4 separate regions of the Homo sapiens genome follow, and all the other regions are linked to region 1. Evidence: promoter capture Hi-C in human tissues and cell types (Jung and others, 2019). All regions are on one chromosome and are shown on one strand. The core of a region is centred on a gene start or on the middle of the fragment in contact, and the rest is flanking DNA. Distances in the headings are between cores, read along the strand shown.

Region 1 (2,700 bases), core at 41-2,540:
CTGCCGCCGCCGCTGTTGCTGCTGCCCGCGCCGCCGCCCGAGCTGCTGCCAGAGCCGCCGGGGGTGCTGCTGCCGCCCGAGCCGCCGGGGGTGCTGCTGCCGCCGCTGTGCTTGGGGTTGCAATCTCGGAAGTGCTGGTTTGTCCCGTTCATCTGGTGGCCTGCAGCAGGGTGCAAATCCGGCATGTAGTGGTTGTGGGGGTAGGGGTGATGGTTGAAATACTGGTTGTTGAGCTTCTGCAGCTGCATGCTGGCCGGCAGGGAGCCTCCCTGGCTGGCCACCGGGGGACCCATGAACTGGGAGTTGTTAAACCTGGCCGCGGGGGCCAGCGCGCTCGGGGGGTGCCCTCCGTTCACAGTCCCCGGCCCCATCGCATGCCTGATGCCGCTCGTGGCATTCATGTTGCCCGCGCCGTAGTGTATGTGCTCGCCCATTAGGGCGTTGAAGGCGTGCTGGGGCTGCTGCTGCTGGTGGTGATGGGGGCTCGGGAACTGCCCCATGCCCATGCGGTGGGCAGGGTGATGGTGCAGCCCATTGGTGCCGTCGGGGAAGCGCCCGTGGTTCATGGCCATCATATGGTCTGCCATTTCCAGTCCTGGAAGTGAAAAGGGCAGATAATGAGACCCGCGCCACACGTGTCGCCCACCACAGCGCACCCCACTTTTGCTCGCCTCTGCCCCCCAGGATTCCCGGGCGCACGTCGGCTGCGAACCACCACCCCCAAGATCCCACTAACAGCCTGTGCACCCGGGCTAGCCACCACGGAAGAGCTACCACTCATAACACAGCCGGACGCTGCACAAACAGCCCCTTCCCCTGCGATCGGGCGGGGGGACCCGAGCCCACACCCCCTTTGCTCCCCGAAGTGGCCTAATAAAGGAAGTGCCCCGTAGCCCTGCTGCGAACTTCAGGCATTAAATCAGCCCTCCTCATCCTGTTGTTGCACATCCTGTTGTTATTCCCCAGCTTCGCCTCACGCTCTTCCTCCGGGCAAACCCTGCCCTCGGAGGACTGGGCTGGCAAGAGCCCCAGCCAGCTTCGCCCGTCGCGCTTACCTTCCGTTTTTGCGATTTCTGCTCCGAAGACCGAGGGCGGGCTCGTCGCGTCCAGGACCGGCTCAGCAGCACATAGAGGGGACCTTCCTGGCGTGCAAAGCGCTTCGCTGTCGCGATGTCGGCGCCGAGGTCTCGCAGCGGCCGCTGGGGCAGATTCGGAGCCGTTCCCTTTTATTTCCCCTCCGTTGCCCTCACAGCTCGGCAGGACCGCCCGGCAGCTGCCAACAATGAGCTGTGTTTCTTAGGGCTTTGGCCACAGTTAATATAGGCATTTCGGAAAGGCGGAGCGAGAGCCTCCAGGGCGGGCGGCGCCAAGACGCGGATTCCGGAACACCGCGAACACCCTGGACCGGGTCCCGGAGCCGCGTCCCCGCCGCCCGCGGCACGTGCTGCAGAGGCTGCGGGGCCCGGGGGCCGCCCAGTCGCCCCGTCGCCCCCCGACTCTGGTTTCTTCCCGGCCCAGAAACGCGAGGTTGGCTCAGCCACCCCCGAGGCAGGGGGAAAATCCTCCCCTGCCGCCCCGCCCGAAGGTAGAGCCTGCCGGGATAGCCACGAGGAGAGCTCACCGCCCCCCTCAGGCTGGATCTACCCCACCCCCAGCTTTCTCACTCGGTTCACCTAGCGATCTGCCCCGCTCTCTACGGGAAAAGGGGACTCGCCCAGCGCCCCCCGCCCTCCAGAGTGCCCTTGTGCCTCCCCGGTTTTGCAAAAGCTTCCACAGGCAGCGAAGAATGGCTGTGCTTCCTCGAGTTGGGTTTTAAAGACCCGGACAAATAATGCGCCCTTTCCTGAGCGCGCCTTCCTAGGCTGTGCCTTTGTGTTTTCATACGGGCAGTGGGTAGACCTACTCTAGATCACCGCTTGTAGATGCATTTTTTTCCTCCACTCCTTTCAAGGACAGGAGCTGGGGGCGGGGAGGGGCAGCCGCTGCAGGTGGACGGAGCGCGCTCGAGGGCCCGGCCACCCCCGCTCCCGCGCCCTGGAATTCCAGTCCGCGCTTTCGGGCCCGCCTGCCGCTCCCGGGGTACGTGTGCTTCTGCTAAGTTTGCGTTTGCAGCTCTTGGTAGCTTTGGCATCCGAGCTGAGGCGTCTCTGCTCTGTAAACAAACTCAGCGATCCTCGTCCCCAGATCCACCTTTTTGCACATACACAGTTACTTGCTTCTGCTGTTGCCCTGGATCCGGGAGGTGGGGGTGTGTACAAACTTGCAGAGCCTCCCTCCGGGCTCTGCCTGACGGTTTGGGGTTGATTTAGAAGCAAACGGGTTTGTAATTAAGAAATTTGAGGGCTGAGTAAGGCTGCTCTTGCTGGAAAAGGAAAACAAATAGATAACGTGGTAATCGCTTTGTAAATAAAGTCGTTCTGGAGGTGGGCACGTAGCTGCACGTCCCGTATGGCACCACGCGCACACACACGGCTGGGACTCTTCCTTTTCAGTGAAATTGTTCAGTGGGGCAATGGGCGATAATAATAACCTTGCTTCCACAACGCGGCACAACGAGCCTGGTCGCCCGTTTGGTTCATTGACTTGCAAATAAAACCCCTAACACAGGTCTGGGCTACTACCAAGTCGGAGCTCTCTGGCTTTCTCACATGGGGAAGCCGAGTTGTTTCCCCAACACCATGATGGGGCTGTTCTGAGCTT
Region 2 (2,700 bases), core at 120-2,619, 1.1 Mb after region 1:
TAAAATCACCCTTTGTTGAGGTTTTACTGTTGTTATCTAGGCAATAATCATTGATGACAGAAAGATGATTTTAAAAATCCCTTCTTTCTAGAAGTTATTAGAAAATAATATTTTATTCTTAGTTATTAGTCAAGTATATTTTCTTTTCTTTTCTTTTTTCTTTTTCTGAGACAGAGTTTCTCTCTTGTTGCCCAGACTGGAGTGCAGTGGCGTGATCTTGGCTCATGGCAACCTCCACATCCTGGGTTCAAGCGATGATTCTCCTGCCTCAGCCTCCTGAGTAGCTGGGATTACAGGCATGTGCCACCATGCCCAGCTAATTTTTGAATTTTTAGTAGATACTGGGTTTCTCCATGTTGCTCAGGCTGGTCTTGAACACCCGACCTCAGGTGATCCGCCCACCTCGGCCTCCCTAAGTGCTGGGATTACAGGCGTGAGCCACGGCGCCTGGGCAGGCCAAGTATATTTTCAAATAACTTGGTAAATAATAGGTAAAATGATTGAGCATGTGCTAAGCACACTTCTAAGTTTTCCACATGCATTATCTTATTTAATGCTTACAACAATCATAATTACTCTTATGCCCATTTCAACAAGGAGGAAACTGAAACCTGTAAAGATTGAGGAATATGCGCAAGGTTGCACAGCTCATCAATGAGAGTCATGACTCAAACTCAGGGCGTCTGACTCTGGATCCAGGGTTCTCAGTGTGCTAGCATCACCTCAACAACAAGAGAATATAAAGTGCCATGGAATAAAATATAAATGTGATACATTTGGTTGGGTCAGTGGAAGGAAATGAGGTCAGAGATGGAAGCGGTGGAATGGAAATAATATTGGTATTGACTTTGTTTAAAGAGACATTTGCCTGACAGAAAATTGAGACTGAAGAACGGCATTTTAGAAAACAAGATATGTACATTTAAAGATGTAGAACCATAAAAATATACAGAATATTTAGCAAATGTTGAGAAGCCAAATGTGCCTAGAATTCTGGCTCCATGGGATGAGAGAATGACACAGGAGTCTACAATGGTAGAATGGAGCCCTGGATGTCTCTTGCAAAATAAATAAATTATATATTTTTTAATTCTGGCATGTCTTTAAATCTAATCACTAAAAATAACTAAATTATTTTTGTGTGCTTGGTCGTGAATAAGGAAAAATGAGATCAGCACATTATGGGCAAGACACATAGTGAGGTTATCCCAGGTTCAGAGAATGAATGCCATAAAAACTACTTTAAAGTTTATGAACTAAGGCTCATGACAATTTCTCTTCTGAGTTTATAGGTATTTTTTGAACCATCAGTGGTTTTGTGTAGAACAGGATGAGAAGATGTCAGTAATAAATTGTAAGAGGGGAGAGCTGTCAGATTATAAATTTTGCGCATGGTGTCTTGTTAAGGATGAAGATTTCCAGGACAGGCTCTTGGCATTAAAGGAAAGTCACCAAGAGCATTTGTGTGAGGTCCTCACACTCAGAATGTGCCTTTGATAATCTATTTTAGTGGATTCAAGAATAATAGAACTTGTATTTGTACATTTAATCAAAAGCACTAACGTACTTTTTATGGGTTTTTTATGCATAGTGAGTACTACTCAATTTGGTATTTTAGCTGTTACCTTTTACTTTTTAAATTTAAATGTTCCTTAAATGTATTTTAATCTACAAGATCTGCCACTATCTAGTTCATTTCCATTCAATTTATATGATACTTATTACCATAGTTCGTTTGAGTACTTGATATTTTTCTTAAATGTCTTCAGGCCCACATCACCAAGTATACTTATGTGCAAATAAGGGGCAACATGTATATTTTGCTAATAAAGATGTTAGATTTGGTAAGTGGAATTTGTTATTTGTAGATAAGAATAGAGTTTTAGTATAAATTACTTAGAAGCATTTGTCACACAAATTGAACTATTATTAGAGTAAATTCATAGGACTCAAATTAATTTTATGCACTTTCAGCCATGAGGAAAAGGCTTCTTTAATTTCTGTTCTATTTTTAAGCTTTAAAATTAGCATATATCTTTCATGTATTTTAGTATAAATAAAGATTATCTAAATTGTTACAATTACACTGAGGTCATAGCAGAGGTAATGATCCCAAAGGTATTAAAAAGAAGTAGATGTTTCTGTTAAACATTTTTTTCTATCTTCTGATGTGACCTGCTAATTACTTAGCACACACAAAAAAATGATACACTAACTGAATAAATTAGCGGCTAAGTAAAAAAAAAAAAAAAACCCAATTTCTAAAAAGGTTAGTTATATTTTCTCAGTTATGTTTCTGCCCTTTTTAATTTTAACTAATTACAATCTAATTTCTGGTATTTATTATTTTAGTGAAGTAGAATATTTAGGATATCAGAATTTCAATTGTTGAGTGGTGAGAATTTAAGGTTAAATATACATTATGCTGTTGGAACTTATTTTCATTTAAAATTAAAATAATTCTTTAATTTATTTCATTTATTTAAAATAAATTATTATTATTTGTTATTGTAGGCTATACTAGGCATAAAATGTTACTTCAAAAGTATTTATCAATTAAAATGTTGAACAATTAACCAAAATACGTTGTTACAAATTTTAAAAATTGTTAATGTCTAAAATATTGGGAGTACCTACTAAGGTATCAGAAGTATGTTACTTTTAACTAGTAACTCTGAATTTTACAGTAAAACATTTTAG
Region 3 (2,700 bases), core at 21-2,520, 1.2 Mb after region 1:
CCCCTATCCAAAGCGGAGGGGATGGGGGAAAGTGGAGAGAAGAAAAAAGGGTGTTTTTAAAAGTGCTAAACAAACTGATTTTAGCTAATGCAAAATGGCGGCTGAGGCGAGTATAGATATTTCAAGTAACACTTGGAACAAAGAATTGACTGAGTCAAATTCACCCGGTTGGTCCCAGGCAAGCTTTAAACATTTTCTTGATGGCTGGATTGTAAGCCTGATGTGGAGTAATTCAGCTTAGTTACAAACATTCACCTTCAGAAGTAAATTTATTCTATATGATACTACATCAGTCAAAAAATCCTGGATGATTTTTGTCCGAATTGTATGAGCTCTTAGCTAAATGTAACCAAGTGACTAATGTTGGCCAATGAGATGTATTTTAAAATGCAAGCCTTTGTGAGGACTACTTAAAATTGATATCTCAGGCAGAAAGTACTTTTTGACCGGTCCACTTATTTCCTCCTTTAGGCTTGGACCTGTAATGTAATGGCTGATGCTTCAACCTTTATGGTCCTTAAGATGATACGAAGTTATAACCACAAGTTAGAAAGGTGAAAAAAGGACAAGAGTAGGCTGGCTCTCTGATGATTATAGTTGCCCATATCAGCCCTGTTCTGTTCACCTTCAGAGTCTTCTCCATGAGAGACAAATAAAGATTTCATTTGCTTTTAGGCCAGTACAATTCTTAATTCATTCATCAGACTAGAAAAATAAAGGAATATCTTAACACTTTACCAAAATCTCTGTTATTTTCTCCTTCTTGCACCATAGAAAATATTTCTATGCAGTTTTCAACTTTACTTATGGGCAGAAATTTCAGAATCCCATTGAATTTCAGGGATTGGGTCACTGCCTTCGTGCAGTAGTAACAATGACAATGAAGAGAGTCTTATGGTTTCTTCCATTTCCCCAATGTCTCTTATTTTGTATCCTCTGATGTTAAACAGAGCATCTATACAAAACCTTCTCTTCGTACCGATCTTCCCTTTGTTGTCCATTTCTTCCCGTCATCATTAATCTCTCCAATTTCTTTTTAAGACATCATATGAGCTTCTTTCTAACATTAATCTTTCTTTTATTTTCTCAATATTAGACTTTACTCTTTCCTAACTCAAGATGGGTTGCTGATGGAATATGAATTAGTTTCCTAAGGCTGCTGAAAAAAACTACTACAAGCAGGGTAGCTTAAACAATATTTATTCTCTCACAGTTCTGGAGGCCAGAAGTCAATACTTGAGTTGTTGGCAGGGCATGCTTTCTGAAGGCTCTAAGGGAAAGTCTATTCTATGGCTCTCTCTCTTAGCTTCTAGTTTTGCTGGCAATGCTTGGCACCCCTTGACAGGTAAATGCATCACTCTCATTTCTACCTCTGTCATCATGTGGCATTCTCCCTGTGTGTCTCAATCTGTTCCTCTCTTTTCTCTTCTTATAAGGCCACCAGTCATCTTGGACTAAGGCTCAATCTAAATAGGTATGAACTTTGTGTAACTTGAGTACATCTGTGAAGACACTATTGCCAAATAAGGTCACATTCACAGGTACCAGAGGTTAGGACTTCAATATATCTGTTGGAGGGACACAATTCAAAATGTGAATTCGGCCACTATGACTGCCATGAATGCCACTATCCAGAGAGGGATGGTCAGCTGTGGATCTGCCTTTGGTTTAGAATTACTGCAGCAGGATATACTTTGAATGGTCATCAAGGATACAGAGTAGTTAAGGATTATGGAGTAGTTACCATGTGACAGGTGTTGTACTAAGCTCTTTCCCAAAAATACGCTTTATTTGCCTAGTATTTTTAAATACATCTGAAATAAATAAAATCAAAAGTATAGAAATTGATTCAATAACCTTGTTTTTTTTAAACAATAAGAGCAAAAATCTTGAAATAAAAAATAGATGAAATGAGAACTTAGCAATTAAATAAGACTAAGATATACCAATCTGTTGCTGTGTATGGACCTTATTTGAATTCTGATCAAACAAACTGTAATAAAAATTATGATACAATTGAGAAAATTTGAACATTAATTAGATAACTGGTGACATTAAAGTAATTAGTGTTAATTTATCTTAGATGAGATAATGATTAAATGTTATTTTTATAAAAAGGGCCCTAATTTTGTAGAATTATATACTGAAATATATACAGATAATCATGGTCCAATGGTTGTTCTTTCATTCATAATCTTTCTTAGGGAGCTATATATGTAGAAAATTGACCATTAATTGATAATTGTAAACATTGAATTATGACCACATGGAGATTGATCATATTCTTCTCAATTTGTGCATATTTTTGTAACTTTCATAATAAACAGAAGAAATGACTAGAAAATAACCTTTAATCTGTACATATAAAAACCATGTCTTAATAAGAAACTATTTTCTTTACCTGAAAAAATTTTAAAACAACACAATTATATAAAGCTTTGAGTTTAAAATGTTTTAACATTCTTTTAATGATGATATTGCATTAAATCTACATAACAACCAACAGATAATTAGGTGAGGGTATCAGCTGAATGTTTTCAAAAAAATAAAAGCTGAGCCATTCCTTTTAACCAATTGTAAAATCAAGTTCAAATTCCATTTCTTCAGGATTTTTAAATGGACCAGTAAGTCTTAGAACTACCTTTCTAGCACCCCAAACTGCATTTTTCATTTCATTTAAAAATCACTTAATTTTTTCAG
Region 4 (2,700 bases), core at 132-2,631, 1.0 Mb after region 1:
CTGATAAAAGTGATCTACAATTGACTGTGATGATGATTGCAAAACTTTGTAAATATACGAAAAGGAATTTAATCTGATGCTTTAACTATGTGAATTTTAGGGTATGTGAATTATATCACAATAAAGCTCATACAAAAAGTCTTTCTGGAAGACATCTGCTTATACCTCACTGATCAAAAATTCAGTCAGATGGTCATTCCTTGCTGCAAGAGATGGAGTGCCTAAAGAATAAAAGATGCTTTTAGCTTCTCTCTCTTTTTTAGTTAGACTAGTAAAAAGTTTGTTGATTTTGTTTATCTTTTTTAAAAAAAACCTCTCTTTTGTTTATCTTTTCTATCATTTTTCTAGGATTTATTTGATTTCTTTCTGCTCTGACGTTATTTCTTTCCTGCTATTAACTCTGGGCTAGTTATTCTTCTCTTTCTGTTTTTTGAGGTTTAATATTAGGTTGTTTAGTTGTGATCTTTCTGCTTTTCAGATGTGTTTATTGCTATAAACTTCTGTCTTAGAACTATTTTCACTGCATCCTATAAGCTTTGGTATGTTGTGTTTCCATTTTCATTTTTCTCAACATATGTTTTAATTTTGCTTTTAATTTCTTCCTTGATCGATTGGTTGTTTAGGATCATGTTGTTTAATTTCTACATATTTATAAATTTTCCAAATTTTATTCTGTTACTGACTTGTAGTTTCATGCCATTATGTTCAGAAAATATACTTGATATGATTTCAATTTTCTTAAATTTATTAAGATTTGTTTTGTGACCTAACATATAATCTATCCTGGAGAATGTTTTGTGCACTTGAGAAAAATGTGTAGTCTGTAGGGATTGAATGGAATGTTCTGTATACGTCTATTAGGTTCCTTTGGTCTGGTCTAGAGTGTAGTTCAAGTCCATTGTTTCCATATTGATTTCCTGCCTCCCTGAAACAATAGAATCCACTCCCTTCTCATTATAGGCATTAAGGAGTATTTTTTAAAATGACCACATCTACCATCACTTATGGTATTTTTAAATGGGGGTAATTTTCTCCTTATTTAAAGCAAACTGCTGTCTACACTCTGAGCAATCCATGTATATATATATCCATGTGCATGTATCCACGTATATGTATTAGGGATCAGTGTGCGTGTGTGTCACACAAAAATACAGTGGGGGAAGTATGCCTCTTGAAAATGCCTGGAAAGCTGTCAGTAAAAATTACTAGTTCTATGTAGTAAATAAATATTAACATGTTACTTGTTGAACACCACCGTGCAACTACTTAGTTGCACAGTCCAAGATTGGCAAATCTTTATCATCCTTTAGGTTAAGGTAGTTTATAGAACTTAGGGGAGAAAAAGAGAAGCTATGCATCCCGTATCACTTCTTGTTAATTTTTTTGTCAGATTATACTTCCCAAAGTGCATATGGAATCATATTGGGCCCCGCCTTATACATAATTATTTAAATTTCATTGGTTATCTGAATATTCTGAATAATAAATTCTCCAGCCAGGCATTTTCCAGTAGTAGTATTTTTCTAATATTCCTTCCTAATATGCCTCCCTCCTGCTGCTCACTGTTGTATCTCCATGTTTAAAGTTGTATTACTTTTACTGCTTCCAGTAGGACTCTGATAAACTCTTATGGGTTTTGTTAATGTTATTTCTACCTGAAATTCTCTCTGACTCCCAACTTTCTGTGTTAATATTAACTCATTCTTCCAGGTACACAATTGATTATGTATCTGCCATATTCTGTTTTCTTAACCCCTCAATATTCTCTTTTCTTTCAACCTTTGAATGTTGCTTGATTTGCATTTTAATATGGCATTTATGTTAATTCACCTTGGGTTATGAATATTTGAGTAACTTTCTTTATGTAGCTAAAGATTTCAAGCCCTTTGATGGAAGTTACTGCATCCTCGTTTATATTTCCAACACTGAAATTTGCATAAGGAAGGGGTTCAAGGTATAGAATTGAGAGAGTCTTAGTGACCCATAATGGAGAGATACTACATATATTTCTTGAATATAATTGTGCATTAACAACTGATGTTATACCAATACTCAGCAACAAAACATATTTCAATATAGCAGAAAACAGAGCATGTAGAAGGAGATGACTATGGGAAGACAAGAGTACCTCGGGGGCCAGATGGGCAGCAAGAAAATTACCATATATTATTTAGCAAACTGGTAAGCAATCTCCTGAGAACCAAATTCAAGGTCTTATTACCCTATTTGAACTCCTGAGGTTTTTTAGAGCCTCTGCTTATTTTCAAAATGAAAGACTTTCAAACACAGGCTGCTGTCACCTTTAGGGATTAAAATATTCACCAAGGTGAGAGGATAGAGCAGCTTTGAACAAAATCAACCACTTGTGGTTAGCAGAGAGGATGCTGAGGTCTTGATCTTGTTTGCTTCATGTACCATGTTCAGCTTTCCAAATATAAAAAAAAAAAAACAGGAAAATTGTCAATTATACGTATGTTTAAGAAATTAGTCGACATCTGCCACCTGGGACCGAATATTACCTCCAGTATTTTTCCAGTTATTTAATGTTTCTAAAAAATATCTACAATGCTCTAAAGTTCTGTTATATCCAGTAAATTTTCTTTTTCACAGCCTTAGAACTTATATCTGGAGAGCTATAGGATAACGATAATGGAGGTCTTTAAAATCTTTTTTTTTTTTTTAAGAAAGCATGCAGCTATG

The links. The method cuts DNA at HindIII sites, captures the fragments that hold promoters and counts their contacts. A contact is called where the count stands out against the background at its distance.
Region 2: a fragment that was not itself captured here is called in contact with the fragment with the promoter of CITED2 in region 1 in 1 of the 25 tissues and cell types used here (lymphoblastoid cells).
Region 3: a contact is called between a fragment that was not itself captured here and the fragment with the promoter of CITED2 in region 1, in 1 of the 25 tissues and cell types used here (lymphoblastoid cells).
Region 4: a fragment that was not itself captured here is called in contact with the fragment with the promoter of CITED2 in region 1 in 1 of the 25 tissues and cell types used here (lymphoblastoid cells).

The regions. Positions count from the first base shown.
Region 1 is chr6:139,373,358-139,376,057 of GRCh38, forward strand. CITED2 (Cbp/p300 interacting transactivator with Glu/Asp rich carboxy-terminal domain 2) reads right to left here and starts at 1,291. Exons shown (of 2, transcript NM_006079.5): 1 at 1,056-1,291; 2 at 1-595. The coding sequence starts at 587. RefSeq lists silencers at 1-99, 670-819, 1,280-1,659, 1,830-2,139 and enhancers at 390-449, 960-1,129. The HindIII fragment of the contact is 4,975 bases long and covers 1-2,700 here.
Region 2 is chr6:140,507,432-140,510,131 of GRCh38, forward strand. No RefSeq gene overlaps it. Among named protein-coding and RNA genes, the nearest start is that of MIR4465, 180 kb to the right of the region's middle. The HindIII fragment of the contact is 4,567 bases long and covers 1-2,700 here.
Region 3 is chr6:140,557,175-140,559,874 of GRCh38, forward strand. All of the region lies in intron 1 of LOC105378027 (a long non-coding RNA gene), which reads left to right. Among named protein-coding and RNA genes, the nearest start is that of MIR4465, 130 kb to the right of the region's middle. The HindIII fragment of the contact is 5,092 bases long and covers 1-2,700 here.
Region 4 is chr6:140,394,219-140,396,918 of GRCh38, forward strand. No RefSeq gene overlaps it. Among named protein-coding and RNA genes, the nearest start is that of MIR3668, 190 kb to the left of the region's middle. The HindIII fragment of the contact is 3,780 bases long and covers 1-2,700 here.